Linked DNA regions of Homo sapiens: region 1 is linked to region 2. The links are contacts of gene promoters, found by promoter capture Hi-C in blood cells and fetal thymus (Javierre and others, 2016). All regions are on one chromosome and are shown on one strand. Each heading gives the region's core, a stretch centred on a gene start or on the middle of the fragment in contact. The rest is flanking DNA. Distances are from core to core; before and after follow the strand shown. Region 1 overlaps SLC45A4 (solute carrier family 45 member 4). Region 2 holds the start of DENND3 (DENN domain containing 3).

Region 1 (6,258 bases), core at 1,414-3,913, 130 kb before region 2:
GGGCAGTGTGGCCATTTTCATGATATTGATTCTTCCTACCCATGAGCATGGAATGTTCTTCCATTTGTTTGTATCCTCTTTTATTTCATTGAGCAGTGGTTTGTAGTTCTCCTTGAAGAGGTCCTTCACATCCCTTGTAAGTTGGATTCCTAGGTATTTTATTCTCTTTGAAGCAATTATGAATGGGGGGTCACTCATGATTTGGCTCTCTGTTTGTCTGTTATTGGTGTATAAGAATGCTTGTGATTTTTCTACATTGATTTTGTATCCTGAGACTTTGCTGAAGTTGCTTATCAGCTTAAGGAGATTTTGGGCTGAGACGATGGGGTTTTCTAGATATACAATCATGTCATCTGCAAACAGGGACAATTTGACTTCCTCTTTTCCTAATTGAATACCCTTTATTTCCTTCTTCTGCCTAATTGCCCTGGCCAGAACTTCCAACACTATGTTGAATAGGAGTGGTGAGAGAGGGCATCCCTGTCTTGTGCCAGTTTTCAAAGGGAATGCTTCCAGTTTTTGCCCATTCAGTATGATATTGGCTGTGGGTCTGTCATAGATAGCTCTTATTTTGAGATACGTCCCATCAATACCTAATTTATTGAGAGCTTTTAGCATGAAGGGTTGTTGAATTTTGTCAAAGGCCTTTTCTGCGTCTATTGAGATAATCATGTGGTTTTTGTCTTTGGTTGTGTTTATACGCTGGATTACATTTATTGATTTGCGAGTGTTGAACCAGCCTTGCATCTCAGGGATGAAGCCCACTTGATCATGGTGGATAAGCTTTTTGATGTGCTGCTGGATTCGGTTTGCCAGTATTTTATTGAGGATTTTTGCATCAATGTTCATCAAGGATATTGGTCTAAAATTCTCTTTTTTGGTTCTGTCTCTGCCAGGCTTTGGTATCAGGATGATGCTGGCCTCATAAAATGAGTTAGGGAGGATTCCCTCTTTTTCTATTGATTGGAATAGTTTCAGAAGGAATGGTACCAGCTCCTCCTTGTACCTCTGGTAGAATTCGGTTGTGAATCCATCTGGTCCTGGACTTTTTTTGGTTGGTAAGCTATTGATTATTGCCACAATTTCGGAGCCTGTTATTGGTCTATTCAGAGATTCAACTTCTTCCTGATTTAGTCTTGGGAGGGTGTATGTGTCGAGGAATTTATCCATTTCTTCTAGATTTTCTAGTTTTAAACTTTATTTTTAAATTATTTTCTGACTTCCCCTAAAGTGCTTACAGAATCCCCAGGGCTTTGCAGAAATAAAATGTTTGGAAGCAGCAGCTGCACCAGGTGGCATCCTGCTGTGAGCTGTTGGGTGTTGTCTTCAAGATACTCACTTTAAAACTGGGTTAGTCCAATGGGTGCATATCTTTGAGGAAATTAAGGTTGGTTAACATGAGGTGATGTTGTTGTAGTGGTTAATTTAGCCTTGTTAAGATTACTGTTTGGACAGTTGCCTCAACTTTGCCTGCTCTTAGAAGCTCGGAAGCTTGCATTGGTGTTAACACCCTAGGTTGATAACATTCCTTGGATAAGTTCATGAAGGTATGAGACATTTGGTAGATTTTTGTACTTACTGCTACTTTAAACAAACTCAAGATGTCTAAAGATATTTGTTGTTTTCATCAATATAGATGCCAGTGAGGTCACCTGTGTAAAATCCGTGTACTGTGCCCCTGCCTCTGCCCTGCTTGAGGAAGGGAAGCCAGCTGTGTCCATGCGTAGACTACTTGCGTAACAGGTGACACCGGTGCCATGCTCATGCTGTTTCATGAGGACTTCAGGGACGCATAAGCCGGTGGCTGGTCACCCGGGGCACCTGGGCGTGACTTCAGCATAGCTGGTGGGGTGGGGAATGGTTTTCCAGTGCAGATACCCCATAGTAACTATCAGCTGATCAGCCTTATTCATTCATTCGCTTCATTTGTTCATTTAACAAATCTTGTCAAGCTCTTGCTGTGTGGCTGGAAACGGTGCATATGGAAGGGAAAGCCCAGGTTCAAGAAGCATGGACGTTGCCCATTGTGGACCGATGCTGGGAGATCTGGGGACAGATGAAAGCGGGGGATGAGGGTCTCTTGAGGGGGCTTCTCTCACTGCTTGGCAGGGTTTTGCCACCTACCAGTAGCTGTCATAATCCTTTGTGCAAGATGGGGATCACCCGTTCTAAAGGGGTCCAGTGAGCCCTGAGAAGAGTCTCTAAAAACAGGGTGGTTGAGCTGAAGGTGGGAAGGGCAAGAGGAGATGCACGGGAGGAGATGCAAGAGGAGATGCATGGGAAGGGCAAGGGAGATGCATGGCCGGTGGTGTGGGCAGAGCCAAGCTCAGGGGAGAGACGGAAGGGTGCAGGCTGGCGGAGAGGCAGCCTGCTCCGAAGGGTGATCCCTCGACCAATGGGCAGCACTGCCCAGGCATGGTTCTGGAGCTGGGGGGCCTGAGGTGGGGCCTGTGTGCACGGCTGAACGTGCAGCGCCATCACTGGCGGGCTGGGTCAGCAGTGTCCCAAGGCGTGAAGCCGTCTTGCTGGCCCCTCAGCCTGCTGAGCAGCGGTGTCTGGCGGCTTGCCCTGACCGTGGCCATGCGGATACTCTGGGAGTGTGGGCTAGATGCCTTTCCCACCCAGATGCTGGTCTCCCTCCTTTTCATCTTCTCTTTGGAAGGCCAACTTTACACCAGTTGTTAGAAGTTTGCTAGGAAAGCCCCAACATGTCAGAGGAACTCCAGTGAGGCAGCTGACTTTCCATGTCAAGGGAGCGCTCCTGCACCACTCTGTCCTTCTGTGGACTTGTGACTCTGTTACTAAGGACACAGGGCCTTTGCTCCCTGAGGGCTTAGTTTTTTGAAATCCTCAGCTATTCCCAGGTAAAAAGACATCTTGTTTTAGAGTCTGTTTTTTTTTTTTTTAAAAAAAAGAGGTCTCACTGTGTCTCGCAGACTGGAGTTCAATGGCATAATTGTAGCTTACTTCAGCCTTGAACTCCTGGGCTCAAACAATCCTTCTGCCTCAATCTCCTGAGTAGATGGGACTATAGGCACATACCATCACATCTGGCTAATTAAAAAATAATAATAATAATTATAGAGATGGAGTCTTGCTGTGTTGCCCAGGCTGGTCTTCAACTCCTGGGCTCAAGCGATCCTCCTGCCTCAGCCTCTGGAGTAGCTGGGATCACAGGTGTGCACCACCATGCTGTCTTTGAAAAACGGGTCTGACTGTTGCACAGGCTGAATGAGTCTTTAGCTGATCCCTGAGACCTTTTGGTGGCCATCCCTGTGGCCCCAAGGTTGGAGTCCATGCTCCATGTGAGAGGCCGATGGTTGCCTGGGGCTTTTCTCTGTGGCTCATCAGTGATTCTTATGCAACCTGCTCTTTGCAAACAAGGTGCTGAGAAATACCACTGGCTGGAGCGCAGCTGAGCTGCTTGGGAAAGGAATGGCCTGTAGCGTTGCCACCTACACTCCTGGCCTCGGGTCGTTTAAGTCAGGACTGGACAGTTTAGGTGGCACGGAGCAGAGTGAGGCTGGGGGGTGTGGGAGCCAAGCAGGGCTCCACCGTCGCCTTCTTTCCTGTTAGAGAGACTCTGGCGACTTCCTGACCCTAGGCCAGGCCGGAGGGCAGCAAACTGTGACCCAGGGGGCAGATCCAGCGCAGAGCTGGGATTTACAAGAATGACCAGCAAGCTAAGAATAGGTGTTGTGTTTTTAAAGGATTGTTAAAAAAAAAAAAAAAAAAAAAAGGAAGAAGAAACAAAAAAGGAGAATGTACAACAGAGACCATCTGTGGCCCGAAATCCCGGAAATGTTCATCATCCAGCTTTACAGAGAAAGCTTCAGTGTCTGGTCTTGTCGGTGGACTCGGAATGGAATAATCAAGGGGTGAAGCATTTTTAAAGAAAGCCGTTTTCCTATTTAGTAATAACCCTAGAACAGAGTGTCTCCCTCTGGTGCTGTTGACGTTCTGGGCCAGGGCCTTCTCTGCTGGAGGCTGTTCTGTGCACTGTGGTGAGTTGAAAGGCATCCCTGGCCTCCGCCTATAAGATGCCAGTACTGTCCCCTCCTCCCCCTGTTGTCGCAAGCAGAGATGTCTCACGTCATTGCCAAGTGTCCCTGGAGGGTGCAGAGTTGCCCCTGGCTGAGAATCACTACCTTAGAATAATTCATATATTACTTATTACAGACATTTATTGCCTAACTCTCAGCTCTTACTGGAACGACTCTTAGGAACAGAGACGGCTTCACTTCAGGCACAAGTCTCCGAGGACACTGTAATGGGACAAAGAGCCGATTGAGCAGGCATGAAGGGTCTGATGTTTATAATTAAGTCATTAGGATTTCTTAGAAAACTAATTGCTTTTGTTCCTGCCCAAAACCCAGCTGATGTTTTCAGTCTTTGCAGACATGTCTGGGTGTTACTTCTTCTCACAAAAATGACTCTTCTTACCTGGTGGAAGAAAGCAGTTAAAATCATTGACCCTATTCTGGTACAAGATTGACAGACTGAAAACAGGGAAAATCGTGAAATTTTCTGTTAGGAATGATTCCGAAAAGGTGGGGGCGGAACAAGAATAGCAGAATGTTGGTCCTTATTAAACCTGGGTGGTTTCTTACACTATTCTGTTTACTTTGCATATGTTAGAAATAGTTCTGGCTGGGTGTGGTGCCCCACGCTTGTAATCCCAGCACTTTGGGAGGCCGAAGCAGGTGGATCATGAGGTCAGGAGATCAAGACCATCCTGGCCAACATGGTGAAACCCTGTGTCTACTAAAAATACAAAAGTTAGCTGGGCGTGGTGGCATGTGCCTGTAATCCCAGCTACTCAGGAGGCTGAGGCGGGAGAATCGCTTGAAGCTGGGAGGCGGAGGTTGCAGTGAGCCGAGATCACACCACTGCACTCCAGCCTGGGCAACAGAGCGAGACTGTCTCAAAAAAAAAAAAAAGTTTCATTACACAGTTTTTTGAAAAAATATTGCAGTAAGGTGACAGTTTGGAAACTCTTGTTTTAATTGAGATGTTTCTACGGTAGAGGACATTTGGAAAACTTGAAAGAATTCTCGAGGGCTGTCGTGTGGAATCGTAGCGACGTTCAGGGGACGTAAGAAGCAAATACATAGGTAGCACCACTTGAACCTTTGGTTCTTAAGGAATTAGTAGGCATTCTGGTTTCCGCTGCAGCGTGAAAGAAGATGTAGGGAAGAGCTGGGACGTAAGAGCCAGGCGCACGGCTTCCTTCCAGAACCTCCTGTACAGCGGAGTCTTCTCCCTCCTGGGGCCCACGTGCCAGGGACCCACCTTCTCCATCAGGGCTGTGTGAGAGAGGAGCCGAGTGAAGACAGCACCTCGAGGTTTCTGGTCTCCTCTGGGGAGAAAGAGAGGAGGAGCTAATTAAGACCACCTTTGGTTCGGTGGAAAGTAATGAGAAATATTTTTGTTGAAACCAGTTGTTGGAAAAATTCTCAGTAAGGTATTGGCCCATAGACCTACCTTAATATAAACTGTGAACACCATTTAGGTGTGTTTTTAGGGGCTCTAACACTTCAGTTGAACCGAACCCCATGTCTGGAGACCTAACTCCAGAAGTCCTGAACTTGGGGTGTTCCACATCCCCGATCTTATCTTACCTGAGGAGAGATTGACCTCATTTCCTAAAACATTTCCAAGGTGGCATTTCCAGTTAGCTTATTGCTGCTTTATTGTATGTGTTTGCCCAGGTGGGGAATTTGTCACCAAGCTGGGTTTGTCACTGGAGGCAGGGTGGTGGAAAGCCGAGGGTTGGGGTGATAGGGTTCCGTAGACCCTGGGAAAGCTGCGTGTGGGTTGGGAGTCTCCGAACCCCTAGGTACTATAGTCAGAGTTTGGCACATGCGTACATTTTTTTCTGGAGAAAAGGTCTATAATTTCATTTTATTCCCAAGAGGTTTTATAACCTAAAGGCCAATACCACAGGAGTCCAGGTGCCTTTGGGTAGACTTCGAACTCCCCCCGGACAGAGAATCATGCTATGCTCATTCCACCCAGCCTCCTACTTTTCATTTTTCTTTTCTTTTTGTTTTTTTTGTTTGTTTGTTTTTGTTTTTGTTTTTTGAGACAGGGTCTCACTCTGTTGCCCAGGCTGGAGTGCAGTGGTGCGATCTCAGCTTACTGCAACTTCCACCTCCCGGGTTCAAGTGATTCTCCTGCCTCACCCTCCTGAGTAGCTGGTATTACAGGCGCCCGCCACCATGCCTGGCTAATTTTTGTATTTTTAGTAGAGATGGG
Region 2 (2,700 bases), core at 201-2,700:
TCTGGCAAATTCGAGGTAGGGAGACAAATCAATCGATGACGTTGCGAGGAGACAGAGGTCAAACGGGATCTACTGACATGACAGGGCGTTGAAGGGAAGGAAAAGTTGAGGGAAACGAGGAAACTATTTCCATAGGAGAATGCTTTTTCACTGAAGTCGAAACTGGCTTGGTACTGACGCCCAGCAGGGGAAACTCCCCGGACACTCACAGACATTCATCTGGTTACTTGCAGGAACATCTGCCTTTCCTGGTGACACCCTCTGCCCTGCAGTCTTCATTTTCCCTGGATAGCCCAGCGTCATTTAAATACTCAGAAGCCTCTCTGCCTTTCTATGCTGTTGTCTGCAAAGAGATGAACGGACCTGTGCAGACGGCTGGCCAGTGACGCCGGGATCTCTAGGTAACATGACCCAGTCACGGTGTCACAGACAGGCGGACCAGGAGGAAACCAGAGACACAGATGGATTCCAGGGAAAGCCAGCGTTACAGAATTAAGAAAAGCTGGGGAAGAAAAAGGAAAACGAGAATTTCCAAAACTGCCGCTTTCCCAGCAGAAGGGAGATGAAGTTGTCACTTTGGCTGCGAGGGTGCAGAGATGGAGGAAGGGTTGGGGGTGGGGGTGGTACCGCAAGGGAGAAAAATAGCTATAGGCTTCATCGCAAAGGGGTTCATGCAGAATACGCGAGGCCGGCGGCTAACTCTAAGATTGCTCTCTCGTTATTCTGTGCCTGGTGCAAAACCCACTACTCAGGGGACAACACATCCCAGCATAAAGAATGAAATCATTTCAGCAGCGAGGGCTGGGCCCGCTAGACCGTGAGGCTCCGGCGGCTTCCGCCCGTTGTCTGGTGCACCCCACCTTCAGAAGCACCTGCCCAAGATGGGAGCGACTGAAGAGAGAGGCCCCAGAGACTCTCCGAGGGGCGGCACCCCCAGATTCCCGGCCGGCGGACCAAGTTCGCAGCTCTCAAAAGACATGTCTCACACCAAGGGCCCCGGGCGGGGAGAGGAGAGAAGAGGGGAGGGGAGCAGGGCGCTGCTCCAGGGCACCTGCCTGAGCTCGGGCGCGATCCCCGGCCACAGGCGCGCGGGGTCACCGCCGGGGGACCGGGACTCAGCCCTCGGAAAGTCCGCGCCAACCCACAGGGCACCCGGGCGCCCGCTCTCCGACTGCTGTCCCGGCTGCCGACTCGTGGCCCACGTCCGCCTCAGTTTCCCCGCCCCTCACCTGCTCGAGACTTCGGAGACTGTCCCGGGGGGCGCCCAGCAGCGCGCAGAGCTCCAGCAGCCCCGAGGGCAGCGACAAGTGCGGCGACGCGGCCTCCGCCATGGCTGCCCGCCGCCCGCCGCCAGTACCGCACTCGGGCGCCTCAGCCGCGCAGTCGCCCGCAGACCCCTGGGGACCAGCCGCGCCGCCTGGGGGCCGGGGGCGCTGCGAGCGCCGTCTGCGGGGCGGGGCTGGAGGCGGGGCCTGGAGGGGCGGGGCCCGAGCCGAGGCGGGGCCTGGAGAGCCCCAGAGGATACCGCGGGGAGACAGAGTTTGGGGGCGGGGCTTGACTGGGCGGGGAGGTTCTGGGCGGGGCCTGGAGTGGCGTGCCCGGCCCTAGGGACCGGGACTTGGGGGCGGGGCCGGTCCTAGGGCGGGTGCTGCTGGAGACCCGCGCGCGGTCGTCATTTCCTAACCCGCCTGCGGGCCCTGGCGCGTGCGCGGCGTCGGAGCAAGCGGCCCCTTCCTTCGGCCCCGCCCAGCCCCGCCGGCCGCCCGCTCCCTGGGGAACCGAGGGAGGAATGGGCGGGGTCCTCAGGTGCCCGGCGACGTCATCCAGCCCCCAAGGCTCCAGGACGCAAAGGGTCCCCTGATCTGGCAGTCCCTGGACCTACCCTGGAGAGCGTGGGGGGACAAAGGCCGGACGCGCCGCCCGCTGCCGCCTCCAGGAAGCCCTCCCTTGCCAGGACAGTGGAGTTGGCCGGGTGTGGACAGCAGGAAGGGCCGGCGGGAAGGGGGGGTGGAAAGAGCCACTCCTGGTTAATAACTCTGCGGGGTTAACCTAGGGCCGGCCATACTCAAGTACGGACTTGAGTAAAATTCAGCAGGAAAAGGAGCAGGGTGGGCGCCGCTAGAGGGAGGCTTCAGGACTGAGGGTCAGAGGCCCAAGGCCTGGCAGGGCCCTTCCCTGGTCAGCTCCAGGCTTGGCCTGATGCCCGGTGGGCCACGGGCCTCTTCCAGCCTCAGGCTGACCCCAGAGAAAGAGGACAGCCCACAAGCCCGGGAGGCCGGCTTGCTGCCTGGTCATTGCTGCAGAGCCTGGAGGGGGCCTGCGCTCAGTCCCCGCTGACCGTCCCCTCCCTTGACCCTGCCATAGCCATCTGTGTAACCCAGGGGAAATTATTCCAAAGGGACTTCCACTTCTGATAATCTATGATTCTATTTTCTAAAAAACAAAACTCTAAAATGCTTAATGTCAAACATCTGTCATCAGCTGAACAGGAAAAGGAACAGTAAGTACAAAGCAAGGCAACATCAGAAAAGGGAGCCCTGAGGAATTTCTCCCTCCTTCCCTGAGCCGGGTGAGGCCGTGACTGCAGCCTGACTCACAGGTTTTATTTCACTTATTAACCTAAAGATGGTGAGGATCTGCTGGTTCTCCCCCAGGCCTGGAGGCTGCCTACCATCGGTGGCTCTCATCGGTGAGCTGAGG

Evidence for each region. The method cuts DNA at HindIII sites, captures the fragments that hold promoters and counts their contacts. A CHiCAGO score of 5 or more calls a contact.
Region 1: a contact is called between a fragment that was not itself captured here and the fragment with the promoter of DENND3 in region 2, in 2 of 17 cell types (neutrophils and monocytes). The highest score is 9.3, in neutrophils.

What each region holds. Positions count from the first base shown.
Region 1 is chr8:141,255,542-141,261,799 of GRCh38, reverse strand. The region is part of intron 1 of SLC45A4 (solute carrier family 45 member 4); the gene reads left to right. It overlaps SLC45A4-AS1 (SLC45A4 antisense RNA 1), which reads right to left. Exons shown (of 2, transcript NR_161376.1): 2 at 4,983-5,359. Among named protein-coding and RNA genes, the nearest start is that of SLC45A4-AS1, 4.1 kb to the right of the region's middle. RefSeq lists an enhancer at 3,027-3,548. The HindIII fragment of the contact is 2,339 bases long and covers 1,494-3,832 here.
Region 2 is chr8:141,127,339-141,130,038 of GRCh38, reverse strand. It overlaps DENND3 (DENN domain containing 3), which reads right to left and starts at 1,450. Exons shown (of 23, transcript NM_001352890.3): 1 at 1,230-1,450. The coding sequence starts at 1,331. It overlaps DENND3-AS1 (DENND3 antisense RNA 1), which reads left to right. Exons shown (of 2, transcript NR_183310.1): 1 at 1-15. RefSeq lists enhancers at 359-1,189, 2,023-2,700 and a silencer at 1,045-1,904. The HindIII fragment of the contact is 7,380 bases long and covers 1-2,700 here.